2 separate regions of the Homo sapiens genome follow, and region 2 is linked to region 1. The links are contacts of gene promoters, found by promoter capture Hi-C in blood cells and fetal thymus (Javierre and others, 2016). All regions are on one chromosome and are shown on one strand. The core of a region is centred on a gene start or on the middle of the fragment in contact, and the rest is flanking DNA. Distances in the headings are between cores, read along the strand shown. Region 1 holds the start of THEM6 (thioesterase superfamily member 6). Region 2 overlaps LY6E-DT (LY6E divergent transcript).

The links. The method cuts DNA at HindIII sites, captures the fragments that hold promoters and counts their contacts. A CHiCAGO score of 5 or more calls a contact.
Region 2: a fragment that was not itself captured here is called in contact with the fragment with the promoter of THEM6 in region 1 in 2 of 17 cell types (total CD8 T cells and total CD4 T cells); the score reaches 7.1 in total CD8 T cells.

Annotation. Positions count from the first base shown.
Region 1 is chr8:142,723,077-142,728,472 of GRCh38, reverse strand. It overlaps THEM6 (thioesterase superfamily member 6), which reads right to left and starts at 1,250. Exons shown (of 2, transcript NM_016647.3): 1 at 614-1,250. The coding sequence starts at 1,126. It overlaps LNCOC1 (lncRNA associated with ovarian cancer 1), which reads left to right and starts at 1,500. Exons shown (of 3, transcript NR_038925.1): 1 at 1,500-1,751. RefSeq lists silencers at 505-754, 1,055-1,494 and an enhancer at 1,525-1,744. The HindIII fragment of the contact is 9,584 bases long and covers 1-5,396 here.
Region 2 is chr8:142,986,245-142,991,477 of GRCh38, reverse strand. The region is part of intron 1 of LY6E-DT (LY6E divergent transcript); the gene reads left to right. Among named protein-coding and RNA genes, the nearest start is that of LY6E-DT, 30 kb to the left of the region's middle. RefSeq lists an enhancer at 2,241-2,742. The HindIII fragment of the contact is 2,620 bases long and covers 1,584-4,203 here.

The DNA.
Region 1 (5,396 bases), core at 1-2,500:
CCCAGGGCCCCAGGTGCCATGCTGCAGGGGCGGTTCTGCCCTGCTGGGAGGAGCGAGCCCTGGGAGGTGCATGGCCCTCCTCTCTCCAACTGCAGAAAGGCCAGAAGGCTTTCAGCTACTCGGCTCAATACCTCAACCCCAAACCCAGGTGACCAGAACCCAGCCCTTCAGCTCTAAGCTGTGTGAAAGGGGGGCTCAGGTCCTCGGGAACTCCTAGGAACCTCTTCTAACTGATCACCTCTCCAACCTATATTCAGGACCAAGGACCAGAGAGGTCAACACTCCAGCCACAGAACAGAGTACCAGGAGAGAGGAGAGGGGTGAACACGAAACCGTGAGGGGCCAGGTTAAGAAATGGCAGGAGGGAAGCACGCTAAGCCCGACTATGAAGAGTTGATTCGGGGACCCTAGGAACCCCCACGAACAAAGGCATCAGTGAGGAATGCCCCCGGTAGAGAGGGAGGGGCGGGAGCGGTAAGAGGCAGGACTCCAGCAGTATCCGAAAGAGGTGCAGGCAGCGGGCCTTCCCTAGGGGAGGGGGCCAGGGACTAGGAGGAGCCCCCGGAGGTCCCACAAAGGCCGTGCTCCGGGGCCAGGGGCGGGGGCCGCTCACCCTGCGCTGGCACAGGTGCTGCACGACGCGCTCGGGTGAGGTGCCCAGCAGGTGCTGCCGGAAGCGCAGCAGCGCGCACACGAAGCCGTCCCGCAGGCTGACAAAGCGCGCCTCCAGGTAGAACGCGCGGTCGTCCCAGCCCAGCAGGCGGGTGCGCACCTCGAAGGGCTCCAGCAGGCGCAGCGAGCGGCGGTGGCGCGCGCACGAGGCCGCCAGCACCGTGTGCGCCCGCAACTCCCTCAGCGCCCCGAGCACCCCGCAGCGGGTCAGGTGCGCGACGCGCGCAAAGTCGGCCTCGCGCAGGTAGCGCGCGTTGTTCATGTGCAGCAGCAGGTCCAAGTCCGAGGGCAGCACGCGGCCCGGGAAGCGCTGCTCAGCTAGCAGGTCACGGACGCGCGGCTGCAGCAGGCGCGCGCGCAGCACGGCGCACGGAAGGCGCACCAGGTACCAGACGTCCAGCAGCGCAAAGACAGCGAGCCCCAGGGCCAGCAACGCCACCAGCAGCCCCAGCATAGCGGCGGCGGCGGGCGCGGGGTCCTGCGGAGTCCGTGGCGCCGGTGCCGGTGTCCGCGGCGCTGGTTACGGTGCCCGCCAGGCCTCCTGGGAACTCACGAGCGCAGCGCGCCCGGAGCGAACCACAGCGCGAGGGCGGCCGAGGGGGAGGGGCCCGGAGCCCCGCCCACCGTGGCGCGACCTTCTCAGCGCCCTACGTGGTCCGTCCCGCCGTCCAGGCCCGCGCCACTTTCGCGTTCCCTGGGGCGGGGCGGGCGGCGCGCTGAGCGCCACAGCGGCACCTGGCGGCCGTGCGCGGCGCTGCAGGCGCGAGGGTGCACGCGCGCCCCGGCGTCTCCGCCTTCCCAGCAGCGCGAGACCCTCGCCAGGCTCTGAAGACGCGGCCTGGCCCTGGCCGTTCGGCCCTTCGTCTGAGCGCAAAGGCTCCAGCACCTCCGCGGCCGAAGCCGCGGGACTTTTCGTGGAAAATGGGACCCAGCCCGATCGCCAGCGGCGCTGCAGCGGACTCTGCGGGAACCTAGCTTCTGCTCCAGGACCTCCAGGGCCACCCCAGCTCGCAGGGCGTTCGCAGCGGCTCAGGGCGAATCACGCTCATGGTCCCCGTGCGCATTTTCAGCCCCAGCCGGTACCTCCTTACTCGCCCTCACGACATTCATTCCACCCCCTAAAGGTCCTGCCAACCCCAGGCTCTTCCCGAGCATTCCCGCCCTTCCTCCCTTTTGAAACCGGAGCAAATCACGGCCGGGCGGAAGCGGGGGAGCCCGGGTGAGAGTCAGTGACTCAGCTGCGGACTCCAAGTGTCGCCGGAGGCCCTGGGGCGCAGGCCCAGCGGGCTGTCGCACAGCTCGGCTGTCCTGTGCCCCTTCCTGACGAGGCTGGGGAGGAAAGGCGGCCCAGAGAAGGCCGGACCAGCTCTCCCCGTCAGCCCCAGGCTCTCGAATGACAGCGGATGCCAGCGACCGGGGATGGGGTCCCGGAATTGCTGGGTTAAACAAGCTCCGGATTCAGGCCTGGGCCTGGGCTGGGGTTCCAGGGTTCTGGACCGCCCTCAAAGAAGGAGCTCCCTGGGGCGGCACCTGGCTCTGCTTGATAGCCCCAGGGACAGGGAGCTCACTACCTATCAGGGCAGCTCCCCCAGTGCCGAGACCAGCTCGGTCCTGGAGACCCTAACCCAGCGGTGCTAGAGGAATTAAAGATACACACAGAAATATAGAGGTGTGGAGTGGGAAATCAGGCGTCTCACAGCCTTCAGAGCTGAGAGCCTCCAACAGAGATTTACCCACGTGTTTATTCACAGCAAGCCAGTGATAAGCACAGTTTCTACAGATTATAGATTAAAAGTACCCCTTAGGGAAACAAAGGGATGGGCCAAAATAAAGGGGTGGGTTTGGCTAGTTATCTGCAGCAGGGGCATGTCCTTAAGTCACAGATGGCTCATGCTATTGTTTGTGGTTTAAGAACGCCTTTAAGCGGTTTTCTGCCCTGGGTGGGCCAGGTGTTCCTTGCCCTTATTCCGGTAAACCCACAACCTCCCAGCGTGGGCATCATGGCCATCATGAACATGTTACAGTGCTGCAGAGATTTTGTTTATGGCCAGATTTTGGGGGCCTATTCCCAACACCCTAGCATTGCTCACACTTGTCCCTGAAGTGTCACCTTGTCGTAGCTGGGCTCTGAGCCCTCTGCCCCAGGGAGGGGTGGCCTTTTGGGCTGAAGGGACTGAGGACATAGCCGTTGAGCCTGTTGGCCATTGCTCAAAGAATGCAGCCTCCTGGTCACCCATGTTGTCCCCTTGCCAACAAAAAGAGTGAAACACTGTGCAATGTTTGAAGAGATTTATTCTGAGCCAAATCTAAGTGACTGTGGCCTGTCACACGGCCTCAGAAGATCCTGAGAACTTGTACCCAGAGTGGTCAGCCTGCAACTGGGTTTTACAAATTTTAGGGAGACATAAGACATCAATGAATACTTGCAGGATGGACATTGGTTTGGTCCAGAAAGGTGGGGACAACTGGAAGTGACAGAGGGACTTCTAGGTCATAGGCAGATTCAAAGATTTTCTGATTGGCAATTGATTGAAAGAGTTAAGTTGACCGGGCATGGTGGGCCATTTCTATAATCCTTGCCATGGGGAGGCTGAGGACCATTTGAGCCCAGGAGTTAGATACCAGCTTGGGCAACATAGAGAGACCTCACTTCTCCAAAAAAAAAAAAAAAAAAAAAGTTATTTTTTAAAGACTTAGCATTAATAGAAAGGAATGTCTGGTTAAGATAAGGGGTCGTGGAGACCAGTGTTTCATGATCAGATGAAGCCTCCAGGTAGCAGGCTTCAGAGAGAATAGATTGTAAATGTTTCTCATCAGACTTAAAGAGTCTGTTCTCTCAGTCTTTAAGGGGTGTGTTGATGTTACTGCTGGTCAGCTGGGCCTGAAATCCAAAGGGAGGAGGGTACAGTGAGGCATATCCAACACCCATTTCCTGTCGTGGTCTGAACTAGTGTTTCAGGTTAACCCTGGACTGCCCTTGGTCAAGAGCAGGGGTGCATTCAGATGGTGGGGGTGCTTAGAATTTCATTTTTGGTTTACACCACTGTGTCCTCTCCTGCCAGGGGAGGGACCCAGAGCTGGAGGCTTAGCCCTGGAGATACCGGTGAAGATGGATGAATGAGAAACCAGTTGGAGCTTCCAAGGTCTCTACCCACCCTCCAGACCTCCTCTGCTCCTGCCCCTGCCCATTCATTCCCAACTTCTGCTCTCCCAGCTCCCCTCCCACCCACATGCTGTTCCCTCCTCTTCCATCTTCCGCTTCCTGGGCCCAGAGACTGGGCAAGATCCCCAGGGCTCTCCTTGCACAGCGAACCTCTCCCAGGGTGCATAGCCTTGCTGCAATCTTACACAGGGAATACATAAGCAAGGAATACTTCTGTCCCTCTTGGACTCTGAAGCCAGAAGGCCAGGGCCTGGTTGGCCTCCTAACTGCTGTGTCCCAGGGCCAGAGCAGTGCCAGACACCCAGCAGTCTTAGCACCCACGAAAGCTGGAGGGACCCACACCTTCCCCATCACTCAGTTGCATCAGTCTAACGCAATGGATTTGGGCAGCTTGTGGTGGTTCACTGGCAGTTTATTGGGGGACTTGAAGGAGTCAAGGTCAAGTGGGGGACTTCTGGGTGCCAGACCTGGCCCTTCCTTGGCCTGGGCTTGGGGTGTCCAAGCCCACAGAGCCATGCAGGGGGAAAGAGCTAGGCAAGCAGGGTGGTTGAGGAGGTCATTAGCGTGGCCTCGAGGGAAAACAATTCCAAGAGGAGCCCAAATTCGAATGTCCCCTGGTGTCATTGAGAATGGAGAGATTTAGGTTATGAATTGTGCAGTTGGTGGGTAGCAAGCCAGGGTCCTGAAGATAGTCTGCATATCCCCTGGTGTCATTGAGAATGGAGAGGTTCAGGTTATGAATTGTGCAGTTGGGGGTATCAAGCCAGGGTCCTGAAGATAGTCTGCATATCCCCTGGTATATATCATTTATATAAGGATGTTACTTAACTATTGCTGTCTTCCAGAGGCAGCTTCTTGAACAAATACTTGAGGTCCTCTATAGGTTTACGGGAGTAGACTGTTTTCTCCAAGCAGGCCTGTCGTCCATCAGGAGAAGCAAAAGGTTTTATTCTAGAGACAAGTCCTTCCAACTGTACAGCTGATGGAGTAGCCAAGGAAACCTGGTATGGACCCTTTCATTTCTCAGTGAACTAAGCCTCTGGGCTTCCTTTTCGCCATGTCTTGAGTAGGACCTGTGCACCTGGGCTAGCAGGGAAATGATCTGAAACTCCATGACCCGGCTGAGGTCACATCTTATTATCATATTGCAAGATGGCCTGCTGAACTTGTCCCAAGTTAATGATGTATTTTACCACCTGATTTAAATCTTCGTCTAGAAGAAAGTGGCTAGGAAGCGGCTAGCAACAGGAGGAGTGGGTTGGGCAGATTCATTCTGTCCCAGCTTCCTAGGATGGAATGAGCAGTCCCTTTCCCAGTGCCCCTCCTTCCTATGGTAGGAACATGGGTTACAGGAGCCAAGGGGCCAAGCCGCTCTGTCTGGGCCACCTGTTTGGCAGCTTCACCAGCTCAGCTGTCTCCTCGGCTGGTTAAAGAACTGCCTGCTGGGGCCCTTCATGGTGCATGACAGCTATCTGGGCAGGGAGCTGAACTGCCTCAAGAAGGGACAGAATCACTTTTTTATGTTTTATGGGGGAGCTCCTAGGAGTCCACAATCTCCTCT
Region 2 (5,233 bases), core at 1,644-4,143, 260 kb before region 1:
AACACCCGGTGCTTCCAGTTGCTCAGGGAGCGCCCAGGGTCACTGCTTTGTTCTTGGAGGCCTTAGCTGCTCCCTGCCTTGGGCCTGCTCAGGGGCCCCAGGCCTGCCCAGCAAGTCTCCCCAACTGGAGTCTTGGGGTTCCTTTCCTCTAGAAGGCAAATCTGCTCTTTGGAGTTTCCTGGGGTTGGGAAGAATGCCCGCCTGTGCTCACCTGCTGCTGTGGGTGGAGGCTGTGGGTGGAGGCTAGGGAGGCTGTGGGTGGTGGGTGGAGGCTGTGGGTGGTGGGTGGAGGCTGTGGGTGGTGGGTGGAGGCTGTGGGTGGAGGCTGTGGGTGGTGGGTGGAGGCTGTGGGTGGAGACTGGGTGGAGGCTGGGTGGAGGCTATGGGTGGTGGGTGGAGGCTGTGGGTGGAGACTGGGTGGTGGGTGGAGGCTGTTGGTGGTGGGTAGAGCCTGTGGGTGGTTAGAGGCCATGGGTGGAGACTGTGGGTGGTGGATAGAGGCTGTGGGTGGTGGGTGGAGGCTGTGGTTGGAGGCTGTGGGCGGTGGGTGGAAGCTGTGAGTGGTGGGGTGGATGCTGGGGAGGCTTTCCTGGACAGAAAAAGCGCTGAGTAGCACCCCTGAGGCGCAGCGGGAGAAACCTCTCTTTGTGCGGTAGCCAGGGGCGGGACAATGTGGGGTTGCCCATGTAGGTTATGAGACTGGAACCACATATTCCAAACACGGGTTTCACGAGGCCAGGCCCAGTGCACTGTGAACCCATCCTTACACACACACACACACACACACACACACACACCACAAATGCATACCTACCAAACGCATAGACACACAACACAAATGCACACCTACCAAACACACACACGCACACCTACCACACACCCATACACCCACATTGCACACACATGCACACCTACCACACCCCCACACACATGCACCCCTACCACACACCTACACACCACACACATGCACACCTACCACACACACACCACACACATGCACACCTACCACACCCACACACACCACACACATGCACACCTACCACACACCCACACATTCACACCACACACATGCACACCTACCACACACACACACCACACACATGCACACCTACCACACACCTACACACACCACACACATGCACACCTACCACACCCACACACACGCACACCTACCACACCCACACACCACACACATGCACACCTACCACACCCACACACCACACACATGCACACCTACCACACACCCCCACACATATGCACACCTATCACACCCACACACCCACACCACACAGATGCACACCTACCACACACCCACACACCACACACATGCACACCTACCTCACACCCCCACACACACCACACACATGCACACCTACCTCACACCCACATACACACCATACATAAACGTGCACGCCCATCATACCCACACACTGACACACACATTTGTGCACGGGCACACCACGCACACCACAGCACATCACATGCATGCATGTGTACACACGCTCCCCCCATGCATGGACGTGCTGTGAGCCTGGGAGCCAGGCTCTTGGTGCACTGTGTCAGGGGTGTGTAAAATGAAAGCTTTTTGAATTAGACACACAGGTGGCCATTCCAGAGCCCTCCTGTGCACATGTCATGTCGCGTTCAGTCACTTAGCGCTGTGGACGTCCCAGCTCAGAGACGGCAAGGAGCCCTGCATGGGTTCGCCCGCGACGGCGTGCTGGCTTGGTTGAGACTCAGAGGCTGGGATGTCCAGAGGCGGCCCCACTACATCCATTCTGCCCTCTGTGGGCACACCTTGCTCTCCCGCAGAGACTAGAAAGCCAAACACGTTTCCCAAACTCCTTTCAGCAGAGTGTCTGGAAGTGGCTTCGGTGCTGTCGAGCGATGCTAGGTTTATGGTTTGGAAGGAGGGCGCTCCTGTCTCTGTCGGCGTGCGACACATCCCCAACTTACAGCTGAAAACAGCCATCTTATTTTGGTCATATTTTAGGGTGAGGAATTCGGGGAGGGGTCTTTGGGGCAATTCTTTCCTGAGTCTGTCATATGAGTGTGTTCAGAAGTCACTGGGCTGTGAGTCCAAGATGGGACACCCATGAGGCTGGAGCTCTGGCGGGGCTGTTGCCTGGACGCCACACATGGTGTCTGCAGAGTGGCGCTCACAGGGTGCTGGGCTTTTCCGCATGGGGCTGGTCTCCTCTCGTGGAGCCTCCGAAGATGTCAGGTGGGAGCTGCAGGGCGTTTCTGACGTGGCCGCAGGAGCCCTGTGCCTCCACTCCCTTCTCAGACCTCACCTCTCCGTGGGACAGCCCCACAGAACTTGCAGAGCTGTTAAAGGCTGTTGCAGAGGGAGGTGGCACCCTGGGGGCCGCAGCAGCCCGGGGAGTGTGGCTCCCCCGCAGGCGTGGAGACTGGGCTCTAGGTGTTTCTGGGGCAACTCAAGCGGAGATTCTGGAGACGCTCACATCTGCTGGAATGCAGGCTTTTCGTTCGTAGAAACAGCAAGCGGCCATGAGTGTGATTAATTGGGAATTGGAGGTGAGTAGAGGGTTTCACGGTCTCCTAAACCAACCTGAGGAAACAGGTGGTCATTGTTGGCATTTAACTGTGAGTATTTCCAAAGCCCGCCGTAGATTGAAACTCACTGCCGTAGCTGTGCAGGGTGTGGACAGGATGGGGATGGGGGTTGGTCTCAGTAGGGAGGCAGGGTCCCCGTTTTTACTAACATCAGATTTACAGGATCAGCTCGACAAACAGACTGCTTTTTTCTGGCTGGCTGAAAATAAATGGGAGAGAGAAAATAAAACAATACTGGTGCATTAGTTATCTATTGTCACATTAAAAGAATTGCTCTGAAACTTAGAGGTTTACAACGTCAAAAAGCATTTACGATCGCAGTTTCTGTGGGTTGTTCAGAAAAGCCTGCTGGGTGGCGCTCTGTGGCGAGCAGGTCTATGCCACTTACCCACAAAGGCTGAGGGAGCTGAGAGGCTGAAGAAAAAGGCCGACAAATCCTGTTTCTCAGAAAGAAACATTCAACAGTGCGATGGGAGCAGAAGCCACGGTGCGGGCGGCCGCGAGATCCATGCATTGCTACCCGCGGACCCAGGGCTTAGGTAGCAGAGGGAAAGGGAGCGGGAGCTTCAGAAGGATGTGTAAGACAACTGGCCTACCCCTCAGGAAGAAGCAAGAATGCCGCCTGCTGGTCCACCCTCAGGAGAAGGCAAGAATGCCACCTGCACCGCAGCCTGTAACTCGCTTAAGGGCAGGATTTTGTGTTTACAATAACATTAAGGTTGTTTTGACCTAAGGACCCAGAACTAGGGTTCATCGGAAGTCCACATGGCGGGTCAGCATCCAAGATGGAGTCATTTTAGCCTTCGCCACAGGTGGTTCCGGCTGCGTGAGGCTAGATGTTGTCTGGGGTGAAGTGGTCCGAAGGCTCGGCTAGGGCTGGAGGACCCATCTCCTAGATGGTGCACTGTGCTGCCGGCAGGCAGATGCTGCCCTTTGGCGGGAGGCCTTGGATTCTTGGCACGTGGTCATCTCTGCACGTCTTCGCTGAGTGTCCTCATGGGTGGCCTCTTCCTCCACGCAGGGATCCCAGAGAGCACAGCGGAGGCTGCAGTGTTCTTTGCAGCCTCATGTCTGAAGTCACACAGTGTCACTCTGCCACATTCCATGTGTGGGGTGTGAGCCTCTAAGGCTGATTCTGCCTTTAGAAAGGAGGGGTATCAAAGACGTCGGAACATATTTCAACAAAGACATGACTATAAAAAATAAAATGATTAAGTGAATTATATCATATGTATAATTTTATGGCAAGAAATGTGAAAATTGAGAGGAAATACATTACCAGAATAAGTGGAAAACTTGGGTAAATCAAAAAAGGAAGAAATTGGCAAGTCCATTTAACATTTGTTAGTGCAAAATGTGCCAACACCAAATGGTTTTAAAGCTGACTTCTTCCTCATTGGTAAGGAACAAGTTCTTCTAGTATTTTAAAAAATATTCCAGAAAATAGAAAAAGGTGAAAATTTTTCCAATTCATATTATATAGCTAATGTAACTTCGTATCAAATTTTGATATAGTATGAGAAAAATATTCCAATTTATTTTGTAAAATGGACGCAAAAATCCAAATAAAATATCATAAATTTGTACACAGTCATTTATTAAGGAACAGCACACCATAGTCAAGCTTTGATTGCATACATGTAACAGTGACTTGATATTAGGAAGCAGAATATAATACATTACATCAGTACACTAAAGTACACAAATCATGTAATTATGTTGTAATTAGTGAAAAAAGTACTTGACGAAATTTAGCAGTCATTTCTCATAAAATCTTCTATTTAAAATAAAAGGGGGCCGGGTGTGGTGGCTCACGCCTGTAATCCCAGCACTTTGAGAGGCCAAGGTGGGCAGATCACTTGAAGTCAGGAATTTGAGACCAGCCTGGCCAACATGATGAAACCCATCACTACTAAAAATACAAGAATACAAAAATTAGCCGGGCGTGGAAGCACATGCCTTCAGTCCCAGCTACTCGGGAGGCTGAGGCAGGACAATCGCTTGAACCTGGGAGGCAGAGGTTCCAGTGAGCCGAGATCACGCCACTGCATTCCAGCCTGGGCGACAGAGTGAGATTCTGTCTCAAAAAAATAAAGTAAAATAAAATATGGAATTTAAATAATGCACCTACAAATCACACCTACTTTTTCAAAAAGGACAGATAACATATTAATTGATGAAATATTAGTGATCAGCATTAAAGCTGCGAAAAAGTCAGGGATGCCTGTCTCACTGCTACCCCTCAACCTGCATTTGGGGATCCTCATGGCAGATGAAGGCAGGCAGATGCAGTAGAGATTGTGCACGGTAGGCCAGAAGTGCTGACATTCTCCCCTCCCTGCAGAAGACAGGGATGCCCATCGAGAAGATCCAAAAGCTTCATTCATCTGATAACCTACAGAACCAATAAGATGCTTTGAGTAAGTGATTGAACATATAAAATTGCTTTTATGTACTGGCAACAACCAGTTATCATAGAAATTGAAATAATAACAATGAATTCTACATGTAACAGAGTCAAAAGCAACAAAATAATGCCTAAGAATATGTTTAATAGATGGCAAGATGACGAACCAGCACTGGCCACCGGCCCCTTGCCCCAGATCAACCCTGGGCAACGGCAGAAGGACACCCTGCCTAGCCCTCTTGGGGGTGG